Regions from separate parts of the Homo sapiens genome. Here region 1 is linked to region 2. Evidence: promoter capture Hi-C in human tissues and cell types (Jung and others, 2019). All regions are on one chromosome and are shown on one strand. The core of a region is centred on a gene start or on the middle of the fragment in contact, and the rest is flanking DNA. Distances in the headings are between cores, read along the strand shown. Region 1 overlaps NCAPG2 (non-SMC condensin II complex subunit G2). Region 2 holds the start of VIPR2 (vasoactive intestinal peptide receptor 2).

Region 1 (5,562 bases), core at 2,360-4,859, 460 kb before region 2:
GAGAGGCTCCTTTCTGACCTAGAGTAAAAATTTTATTCTCAGAGAAAAATAAAATGATTGAGAACCTGGTATAAGAAAAATATAAGGGAAAACAAACACACTTTTTTGTCCAAAAGGGTATCTGGATGTTGAGTTGGGATTGTGGATTACATAGCCCTATCTTCATAACATAAATACTATGTATTCACCAGAGTTACCCATAATCAAAGAAAATATCTTCAAATTCTCAAAAATAATGTAACTAAAAGAGGTGACTTGAAGTCCCTGAACGGCACTATCCAATAGAAACTGAATGCAAGCCACAGATGCAATTTTAAATTTTCTAGTGGCTGCATTAAAAACAGACAAAAGAAACAGGTAAAATTACTTCAATATTACACAGTCATCCCTTGGTATCCATGGGGGATCAGTTCTAGGACCTCCCTCAGAGACCAGAATCTGCGGATGCTCAAATTCCTCATATAAAGTGGAGTAGTATCTGCATATAACCTATGCACTCCTGCACACTTTAAATCATCTCTAGATTACTTATAATACTTAATACAGTGTCAATGTTATGGAAATAGTTGTGACACTATATGTGTAGGGACTGATGACAAGGAAAAAAAAGTCTGTACATGTTAAGTACAATGCATTTTTTTCCCAAATATTTTCGATCCTTGGTTGATTGAATCCATGGATGCGAAACCCACAAAGGGCCAACTACCACATTTCGCCTAATACATCCAAACCACTAACATTTCAACATTCACTCAACATTTTTAAAAAGTACTGAGATATTTTATATTCTCATTTCCATATGAAGTCTTTGAAATCTGGTATGTTTCTTACACTTACAACACATCTTGATTCAGACTGGCCACGTTCCAAATGCCCAGTGAGCACATGGCTGGAAAGATCAGGGTCAGAGCTCCCTCCCAGCTGAAAGAGCACAGTCCTACCTCCCACAAACCACACATCTTAGCAAGTGACTGGATTGCCCATCAAATAGATTTTCATTATTTGGCTTTATTTTGACAGAGTGCATAAACATGGATCTTAAATAACCCTTCTTTGACTACTTATTTAGTAACTAAAATATAATAAAAATAAGTGTTAACATTTAAAAAAATGAAAATACCTCCAGTATTTTCCCTGAAGCCTTTTTCCAAGCTCTGAAATAAATTTCTGCAATGTATACCATCAAAGACCTATATAAAAAGATCAAAATAGTTTTAATGCAAATTTTAAGAATTATTCTTTCAACATGTATCATTTCAGCTACTCTCCAACCATAGTGAAGAAGAAACTCAGTTTAAACTAGTGCTTTGCAAATCATCTATAGAAATAGGTTATCTACCTGTAGCAAAAAGTAGAAAACGGAGAAGGTTTTGGGAAAGGAAACTGAAGTGACGAACTATTTCATCCTTCTCAGTCAAGGCTTACCCAAAACTTTACTATTTTCTGTGAAACTATGAGTGCATAAGTCCAGAACAAAATTCTAAAGTCAAAAATATTTAAATATAAATAAATTGTCGACTTGGAGTCACGTTGGACTTTTCACGCTACCAATTCCTGAGGTACAAGAAGCCCTAAAATACCAGTATCAACTTAAGAATCATAAGCTTAGAAATCTATTAGTTCAACTCAAATATTCTGAAGATGAGGAAATATGAAAAAGCAATCTAGTATACAACAGGAGCTTTGCAATCAGAGATCCAGAATCAGATCCCAACTTGGTACTTATACAGTTGCCTGACACTGGGAAATTTAGAAAGCAAAGCCTATCTCAAAAGAGAGTTGTGAGGATTAAATTTTAAAATGGAGACTAAGTACTCAGTGCTGGAGCAAATGAAGTACTCTGCCTTGTGCCTGGCAAACGACAAGCACACACTTGACATCTCCATCACGCAGGGAGTGGCAGAGTCATGACTGCAACGTTCCCTGCTGCTCCTGCAGATTCCACAGGCTCTTCCGAGAAGCCACCCTGGCCAGGCCACGTTCAACCAAAAAGCACACATTGCATTCAAAGTACCATGGACATGGCTTTATTACGAGCGAGGCTAAGGTTCAACTGGAAACTATTTTAACTATTTAAAGAACTACCACAAATTAAAACCTTAATTTCAGTGGTCAATACTGGAAAAGAATGATTTCCTATAAAAGGAAAAAGCTACCCAGTGATCCAATGGTACATAATAAATAACGTATTTCTAAAGCTTCTAATCCATTACTATAACTTAAGAAGTCAGACCAAATGGAATCTTTCAAAACCAGATTAAGACAGCACAAAATCTTCAGTACTTTTAACACTTACTTTTGTAATCCCTGTAACTGGTTTTTAATGGTCCCGTGGATCATTTTGATGAAGTTGATATTCCAGTTGAAGAGACAACTAAGAAATCTTCTTCCCTAGAAATAAAAAAGGATAGAATGTTTACATTGCAACCAAATAAAAAGTGCCAAATAACAAACAATTATTTGAACGTCTAGTAAGCTAAACATTGCTATTGCTAAAAACGAGGCACATGTAATTATCACTGAGAGCACATGCACGAGTTGAGCTGTCTGCGGGGCCTGCACAGCCAGGAGCCACACAAGCCACCTCCCCCAGGGCCGAGCAGCCGCTACACTGAGCGCCTCTGTCCTCAAGGGCCACAGGTGCAGAGATGGAGACCACAGACAGTAACCATGGGTCCATAAACATCTCATTCTGGCTCTGTCATGGATGGTTCCATAGTCTCAAATGAAAGAAAGCTTTAAATCTAGCATAGGTGGGTGGGAATGGAGTTGAATATCCCAGTTCATTTCACCTTCTCATTTATAGATGAGAAAACTGAGGACTCATATAGTTAAAAGGCTAAGTGTTTGTCAAGCTAGAATTTCCAAATACACAGTCTTCAAGTCATAAATACATCATGTGATGATAATTTATATGCATGCTACTAGATTATGTATCTGAACCTAAGAAGAATGAATACAATCTTCATACTCTATAGAGTGCATAAGATGCATCTATCTAGAACTCTCTCAGTGAATAGCACCTTCATCTCTTACCAGCACACCACTGCACAGAACTGGAATCCTACAGAAATGCAATACATTTTGATTCAAATGCAGGGTAACCATGCTCACAACAGGCAAGTTAAAAAAAAAAACAGTAATATTCACTGGAAGTAATCTGTTAGTACAGTACAAGATGTTTATGGTTTACCCAGAATGACTGGAAACTGACCTGACCAAATTAATGATTGATTAGGAAACTACATTTAGATATCTTAAATTCAAAGGAGACATCAATTTTTTAAAAAGGGTAGAGGTTATAACACATACATACATTTATGTCTGTTATATATCTGCACACATATATAAGTTAACAAGTACGATTCATCAACTCCTTATGTATAAGTCAACATAAAATAGTTTATTGTTTGAATCCATCATTAATTTCTTCACTCTCCCATTTCAGAACAATCCTGGAGACATGTGTGGGGCACAGGCTGTGTCCAACATCTTTGTAATAACGATGGTGCTGACACAGCAAGGATGGCAAAGGGCAGCCCTCCCCAGGGGTTCTTATCCACCAGCGCCTGGGCTGCGGTTTGATACATATTACCTCATCTGTTCCTAACAACAATCCTGTGAAACAGTAACTGTTGCTCCTATTTTACAGAACAAAACTCTGAGGCTGAAAGGCCTGACCAAGGGCACCACCTATAAAGTGAACAAAGACCCTGGGAGCCAAAGGTCTCAGTCCTAATCACATGGCCCTTTGTCTAGCAGACTGCAGATGGCTCGCCGGGGTCCAGTTCTGTCTCTGCCGCTGAGCAGCTGTGACACCTGGAGGAAACTTATTCTGTACCTCAGAGCTGGTCCTCCTCTTCCTCTGAAGCCCTTCTCCACCTCCTTCAGGGAGGAGGGATGACTTCCTCCTTCTGCCTCAGAGATGTGCCTGCTGAGCCATGAGCATCCAAATGCAAAAGCTTGTTCTAGTCTCCCCTGGCACTGCCTGAGCATGTAGTCGACGCTCAGTAAACAACTGCAGAAGGCCCCTAACACAGAAGAACTATGCGAGCCTCTCTGTAATTCTCAATTCTTTAGTAGTCATGTTAACAAAAGTAAAGAAGATTAATTTTAATAATATATTTTATGTAAAGCAATATTTAATATAACAGACAATAAAAATATTGTCTATTATATTAAGTATAGAACAAAAATTATTAATGAGCTATTTTATGTTCATTTCTTTCCCACTAAATCTTCAAATCCATGTGTATTTTATACTTATGGCTAATCTCAGTTCAGTTGGGTCCCATTTCAGGTGCTCAGTAGCCTCATATGGGAGTTGACCCCAGGACGGGCAGTGCAGCAACAGGCCAGAAGCCTCTCTGGATTTACAGGATGGGTAGAAAAAAGAAAGGGAGGATATTATGGGATGACAGTTTTGAGTACATGGCAATTAAAATGGAATTAGGGCAGAAGGCCAGATCTCATTCATAGAGAAGTGCTTTCTCAACCTTATTTTTAATCATTCTTAATTTAAAATGTAATTACGGTTCCCCTAGGTAACACACAGCCACCTGTTACCATCCAATTTAATGATGAAATAAGCAAGGACTTGTAAAATGTCTTCTCTAGTACTGCCATGCAGTAAAAATCATGTGCAGTAAATAGCTCCTGGTAGCTAAGCAACACCGAGCATGGTGCAGACAGGAACCATGTGAACACAGGAGAAACATCTATTAAGAAGCAGCTCACAAACAGATCAAAAAACAAATACCTATTTACCTCTTCTTTCTTGATATAATTAATATTTATGAAGCACTCAAGTAACATATCTTTAATTTCTCCACTTTCCTCCAAATCATAATCAAAGCAATATAAAGCTTGATGGATACGCCAAAGCCGACATACGTCTGCACCCTAGGAATGACACAAAAAATGTGATACCTTTTTCAATGAACAGTAAAGTCATATTTCAAATCAAGTATATTTTATATCATAAATAATGGTAATTCTAGTTGATTCATCAAAGATTAAAAAATAACGACAAATAAAAACAGATTTTAAAATTTGCAAATGCCCCCTATAGCTCTACAGAACATTTTTTTAAAACATAAGGAAAATAATTAAAAATCCAGCAAGTTTAAGAACTTCCTCGATGATGAAGATTTTATACATCTGAACTGTCTAGTGCAGTAGACATTAGCCACATTTCACTGTAGAGCTACTAAAATGTGACTAATGCAACTGAGGAACTGAATTTTTCATTATTTTTAACTTTAAATTTAAACAGCTTTCTGTGGCAAGTGGCTACTACGTTGAATAGCGCAGGTTTAGAATGTTAGGAAGACGTTTAAAAATAAAGTCCTAGCTAGGTGGTGCACTCCTGAAGTCTCAGCTACTTGAGAGGCTGAGGCAGGAGGATTGCTCGAGCCCAGGAGTTTGAGGCTGCAGTGAGCTATGATCATGCCACTGCACTCCATCTGGGCAATAGAGAGAGACCCTGTCTTTAAAAAAATAAAAAGTGAGCATACTGTCTTAGTCTCCAGACTCCTCCTTAGTAACATGACAAAGGCTGTC
Region 2 (5,063 bases), core at 1,182-3,681:
TCTGCCTTACCTTTGTGTTTTTCTGTTTGAGACCTCAGAAGCTCTGCACATTTTGTTTCTTCCTCCTGTATTTCCAGATGAAATCGGCATTCTGGGTGAATGCTGTTCACCTGTTCACGGTTAAAAGAAATATTAATAACTAAAAATTCCACAAGAAGAAGAAAAGCAAGCAAAAATTCTACAAAAACAACCCCAAACCTCACAGCTTTAAACTGCTTCCAAACCAAAATGCATTTAAAACCAATCACCTTGATTTTTCTGGCATTTTTTAAAAACTTCACTATTTACTTTGTAAAGGTATTATAAAACAAACACAAAATCTAATAGAATTTTTTTTCTGAGCAGGAAAATGAACTTACTAACAGAATACATCGGTACTAATTTGGAGGCAACAGAGCTCTTTACTCCATTCATCTCTCCATACCCGGCTCCTCCGTTTCACACCCTTTGGTTTGGTTTAAGCGGATGCCTGTGGACTGTGCCGCTTCCTCCGAGGACGGCCTCCACCCGGGAAAGAGCCGTGATAGAAGGGCTTTATTTTTAAAGGTGTTGGTACATGTTCAAAGCTTAACCCTCTAACTACAGATAAAACTGCAATCGTTTTGACTAGAATTTGGGGTGGAAGAGATATTCAAAGAAATCAGCAAGATGAGGAGGGAGGCAGAGGTGGGGGAATCACACCATTGTGGCCCCACAGAGAAGAGGGGGCGATTTCCAGTCAGGATCCATCAGGGGAGCGAAAGGTGCCACAAAGATAGTAATTAACAGTCTACTAATGTGAGAAGAAGGCAGAACTACACAATGCTTCCTCTCAGAAGGCACCGTTTCTACCTTGTTCTTCACGCCCTCCGCGAAGTCAGCACAGGCCTGCCAAGCGGCCCTTGGGGGCTTAAGGAGGGCTCCCCCCACCCATCCTTTTGGTCTTGATCTTCCCCCTCCCCCACCACCGACCAAAATTCTACTTGTACTAAAGTAGTAACTAAAGAGAATCATACTGTTGGGCGTACTATGGCCATCTATGTTTAGTTATCTTACTATTGAAATGGTCAATGAGAGTTCCAACCAGGAACACAATATCCTAACAGAATTAAGGGGAAAACAATGCTGGAACTTCTGCCACCTTCAGCCCCATTTAAAAGAGCCCCGAGCTTGCTTCTTGCTCGTGACTGAACCAGCACCAGGCACTGACTTTGGGCTCCAAGTCCTCTGTTTTCATGCAGGACAAGTAAGTGGCTTAAATTTCAGAATTAAGGAAATTATATTGATGTAAAAAGAAAAACTTTGTTAAAGTGTAAAAGACATTAATAATACCTGACGTTCCTGGAATATGCACAGCAATGACTTCTTTTAGGACATTTTAGCAATGAAAGCAGCATTAACCGTGATAAAACCCGTTACTTTCCAAGGACCCGCTCCGCAAAGCGCCCACCCTCGAGGGAGGAAAGCCGAGCTGCGCCTCCGCGCAAGGCCAGGGAGTGTGGCTCGAGCCCCGCTGCAGACCGGGCGTCGCCGGTTAATCAATGACACTGTCGGGTCAGCAGCGCAGCCTCCCAGCTGCGGAGGGGCCGCGGATCGATCCAGACCTGCCTCGGCTGCGACGCGCACGAAAACCGCGCGCACCGCAAACCCGCTTCAGTCTCCAAGAGGAAAGCAAGAAACAAGGCTCGGGTTTTTTTCTTTCTTTTTTCTTTCCTTTTTTTTTAAGGTTCACAGAGGGAATAATTCAGAACTCCATGTGCGAAGGCACTTAATCAACAAACTTATGAGCAGTTAGTTCCTCCAGTGCCCTTGGGAAAAAGCAACTATTTCCAAAAGGAAACTTTATTTAACCGACGCCACGTCCCCCCGACACTAAAACTAACCAGTAAGTACAGGGAGGGACCGAGAGGCATCTGCGGCCAACGCCAACCCCGATCTCCCCGTGAAACGCGCAGCCCGCGCAGGCGCCCGCAGCTCCCAGCTCCCGGGACGGCCCCGAACGAGCTCATCGTTGACGCGTCCAGGAAGAAACGATCCCGTTTCCAGCAAACCCCGGACGGTGGGGCGCGGGGAAGGGCGCAGGCAGCCTCCCAACCCGAGTCCCGCAACCCGGCGGGACCGGAGCTCAGCGCTTCACGCTCTCCGGGAGGAAGCTCCGGACCCCGGGCGACCCCGCTCCCTCTCCCGGACCCCGCCCGCGCTCCAGCACCCGGGAGGAAGGCGAAGACCGGCGGGAGGAGCGCTCTTCTCGGAAGGGGAGAACCGGGTCCGAGGCGCCGTGGGGCGGGGGTCGCGGGCGCACTCACGGGGGCGAGCAGCCAGCAGGTCAGCAGCGCGGGAGGCAGCAGCGTCCGCATCCCGAGCTCAGCGTGCCGGGGGCCGCCCAGCGCCCGCCGCCTCCGTCCTAGGTCCCCGCGGTTCCGCCGCCTCCAGCATGGGCCGGGAGCGAGTGCGCGGAGACCTCGGGCCCCGCAGCTGTAGCCGAGCGCCCGAGCGCGGGGGCCGCCCCCTCCGTCCCGGCAGCTGGAGCGCGCTCAATGCACGCCCGTCCCCCACGCGCCCCGCCGCTCCGCCCCCCGCCCCTGTCCCCGCCCCGCGCTGCCCCAATCCTCGTCTCCCTCCTCCCCCGAGAACCCCCGCTCCGCGCCCCTCCTCACCGCCCCCCACTTCCCCTTCCGCTGCGCCCCGCGCCCTCTCCTCGCCCCTGGGCTCTCTGTCCCCGCCGCGCGCGCTCCCTCTGGTCTCCTCGACCCCCCCAGCCTCTCTCTCCGTTCTCCTCCCCTCTTCCCTGGCCCACGCCCCCCTCCCGGCCGCGCCTCCCCGATCTGTGGGCGGAGGGGCTGGGAAGCGGGGTGCTCAGTGCGCGCCCGGCTCCGAGTAGAGAGAACTGGGGGAGAGCGGCCGGCGCGGGGCCGGGAGAGGAGGACCGGGCCAGGTGTGCGCTCGGAAGGGGCGGATGCCTTTGCGGCCGCCTGTACCTGCCTTTCTAAACAACTGCGGAAGCCCAAGAAAGCGGCCAGAGACCCGTCCGGGGTGGGCGCGCCGTCTTTGTAGCCAGTGGGGCTAGGTTGGGGCATCTGAAAATGGAGAAAATCAGAGTGCTTTTTGGTGGGGATCCCCGCAGCCTCAAAGAGGACATCAGGTCGAACAGAAAGCTGGAGAAAAACGCAGACGGGGGTATAGGTGGGTCCCAGCCTCAGCTGGGTGGCGGGTTTTGTGTCCTGCGTTTGCAAAACGGGGGTCATTCTCTCCCCGCAAACGCGGCGGCGGGTGGGGAACGCTGGGCGGGGACTCACGCGGTGCCACTGGGGCCGCCCCGCCGCGCCCCACGCGGGACTGCGCGGCCTCCCAAGGCGCCCGCGTGACCAACCCAGGAGAGCTCGGCGTTCCCCAGCAAGTGGAAAGCACTGGAATGAGAGATACAAGTTAAGTTCGTGTTGTTTTAATTTTTTATTTGGAAATAATTTCAAACTTACACAAAAATTAGAAGAATAAGAATATTACAAATAACTCCTTTTTATCCTTTTTGTGGATTCGGTCATTAACATTTACCTCATTGGGCTTATCATTTGCTTCTCTCTGATCCCCCACCCCCCGTATTCACAGATATCGATTTTTCTATCATCTGATGTTTATCATCCACATTATCTATCATCTACCTATCCATCATCTACGTATCATCTATCGATCTGTCATGTACCTATCATCTATCATCTTCCTATCGATCATCTATCTGTAATCTGTCATCTATTATCTGTCATCTATCATCTACCTGTCCATCATCTACCTTTCATCTATCCATCTGTCAGGTATCTATCATCATGCGCCTATCATCTATCATCCACCTTTCCTCTATCACCTACCTGTCATCTATTATCTATGATCTATCCATCTATTATGTACCTATCATCTATCATTTGCCTATCTTTCATCTGTAATTTACCTATCTATAACCTGTCATCTACCTATTTATCATCTATCATCTGCTGTCATTTATGATCTATCCATCTATCATGTACCTATCATCTCTGTATCATGTATCAATCAGCTATCATCTACCTATCATCTCTCTGCGATCTATTACCTATCTATTACCTACCATCTACCTATTTATCATCTATCATCTACCTCTCTGTCATTTATCTATGATCTGTCATGTACCTATCATCTATTATCTTCCTATCGATCGTCTATCTGTAATCTATCATCTATTATCTGTCATCTATCATCTGCCTATCCATCATCTGTGATCCGGCATATCTGTGATCTACCTGGCTGTCATCTATCAATCACCTATCATCTGCCTATCTGTCATCTGGCTGGCATCTATCAATCACCTATCATCTGCCTATCTGTCATCTGCCTGTCATCTATCAATCTATCATCTGCCTATCTGTCATCTGCCTGTCATCTATCAGTCTATCATCTGCCTATCTGTCATCTGCCTGTCATCTATCATCTGCCTATTTATCATCTATCTGTGATCTATCATATCTGTGATCTGCCTGTCATCTATCAGTCATCTATCATCTGCCTATTTGTCATCTATCTGTGATCTATCATATCTGTGATCTGCCTGTCATCTATCAGTCATCTATCATCTGCCTATCTGTCATCTGCCTGTCATCTATCATCTGCCTATTTGTCATCTATCTGTGATCTATCATATCTGTGATCTGCCTGTCATCTATCAGTCATCTATCATCTGCCTATCTGTCATCTGCCTGTCATCTATCATCTGCCTATTTGTCATCTATCTGTGATCTATCATATCTGTGATCTGCCTGTCATCCATCATCTGCCTGTCATCTATCGATCATCTATCATCTGCCTATCTGTCATCTGCCTGTCATCTATCCTCTACCTGTTATCTATCTGGCTTCATCCATGTGTATCTAGTGGGAGACGAGGAGAGGGAGACCTGGGCCTTAGGCGGGCTGCTTGGCTTGTGAAGAAAGCTCGTGGCGCTGGGTGCCTTCGACAAACGCATCTTTTTCTCCCGGTTCCACCTGGGTGAGCGATGAACTTTGAGCTCTATGCATTTGTAGGAATGACAGCACCTGCCCTTCCACCGCAGAGGGGCT

What was found. Contacts are between HindIII fragments. The study calls those that stand out against the background at their distance.
Region 1: a fragment that was not itself captured here is called in contact with the fragment with the promoter of VIPR2 in region 2 in 1 of the 25 tissues and cell types used here (lymphoblastoid cells).

The regions. Positions count from the first base shown.
Region 1 is chr7:158,685,052-158,690,613 of GRCh38, forward strand. It overlaps NCAPG2 (non-SMC condensin II complex subunit G2), which reads right to left. Exons shown (of 28, transcript NM_017760.7): 5 at 5,517-5,562; 6 at 4,768-4,902; 7 at 2,297-2,391; 8 at 1,121-1,190. Among named protein-coding and RNA genes, the nearest start is that of NCAPG2, 17 kb to the right of the region's middle. The HindIII fragment of the contact is 3,416 bases long and covers 1,902-5,317 here.
Region 2 is chr7:159,142,436-159,147,498 of GRCh38, forward strand. It overlaps VIPR2 (vasoactive intestinal peptide receptor 2), which reads right to left and starts at 2,432. Exons shown (of 13, transcript NM_003382.5): 1 at 2,286-2,432; 2 at 11-110. The coding sequence starts at 2,336. RefSeq lists an enhancer at 4,230-5,063. The HindIII fragment of the contact is 14,641 bases long and covers 1-5,063 here.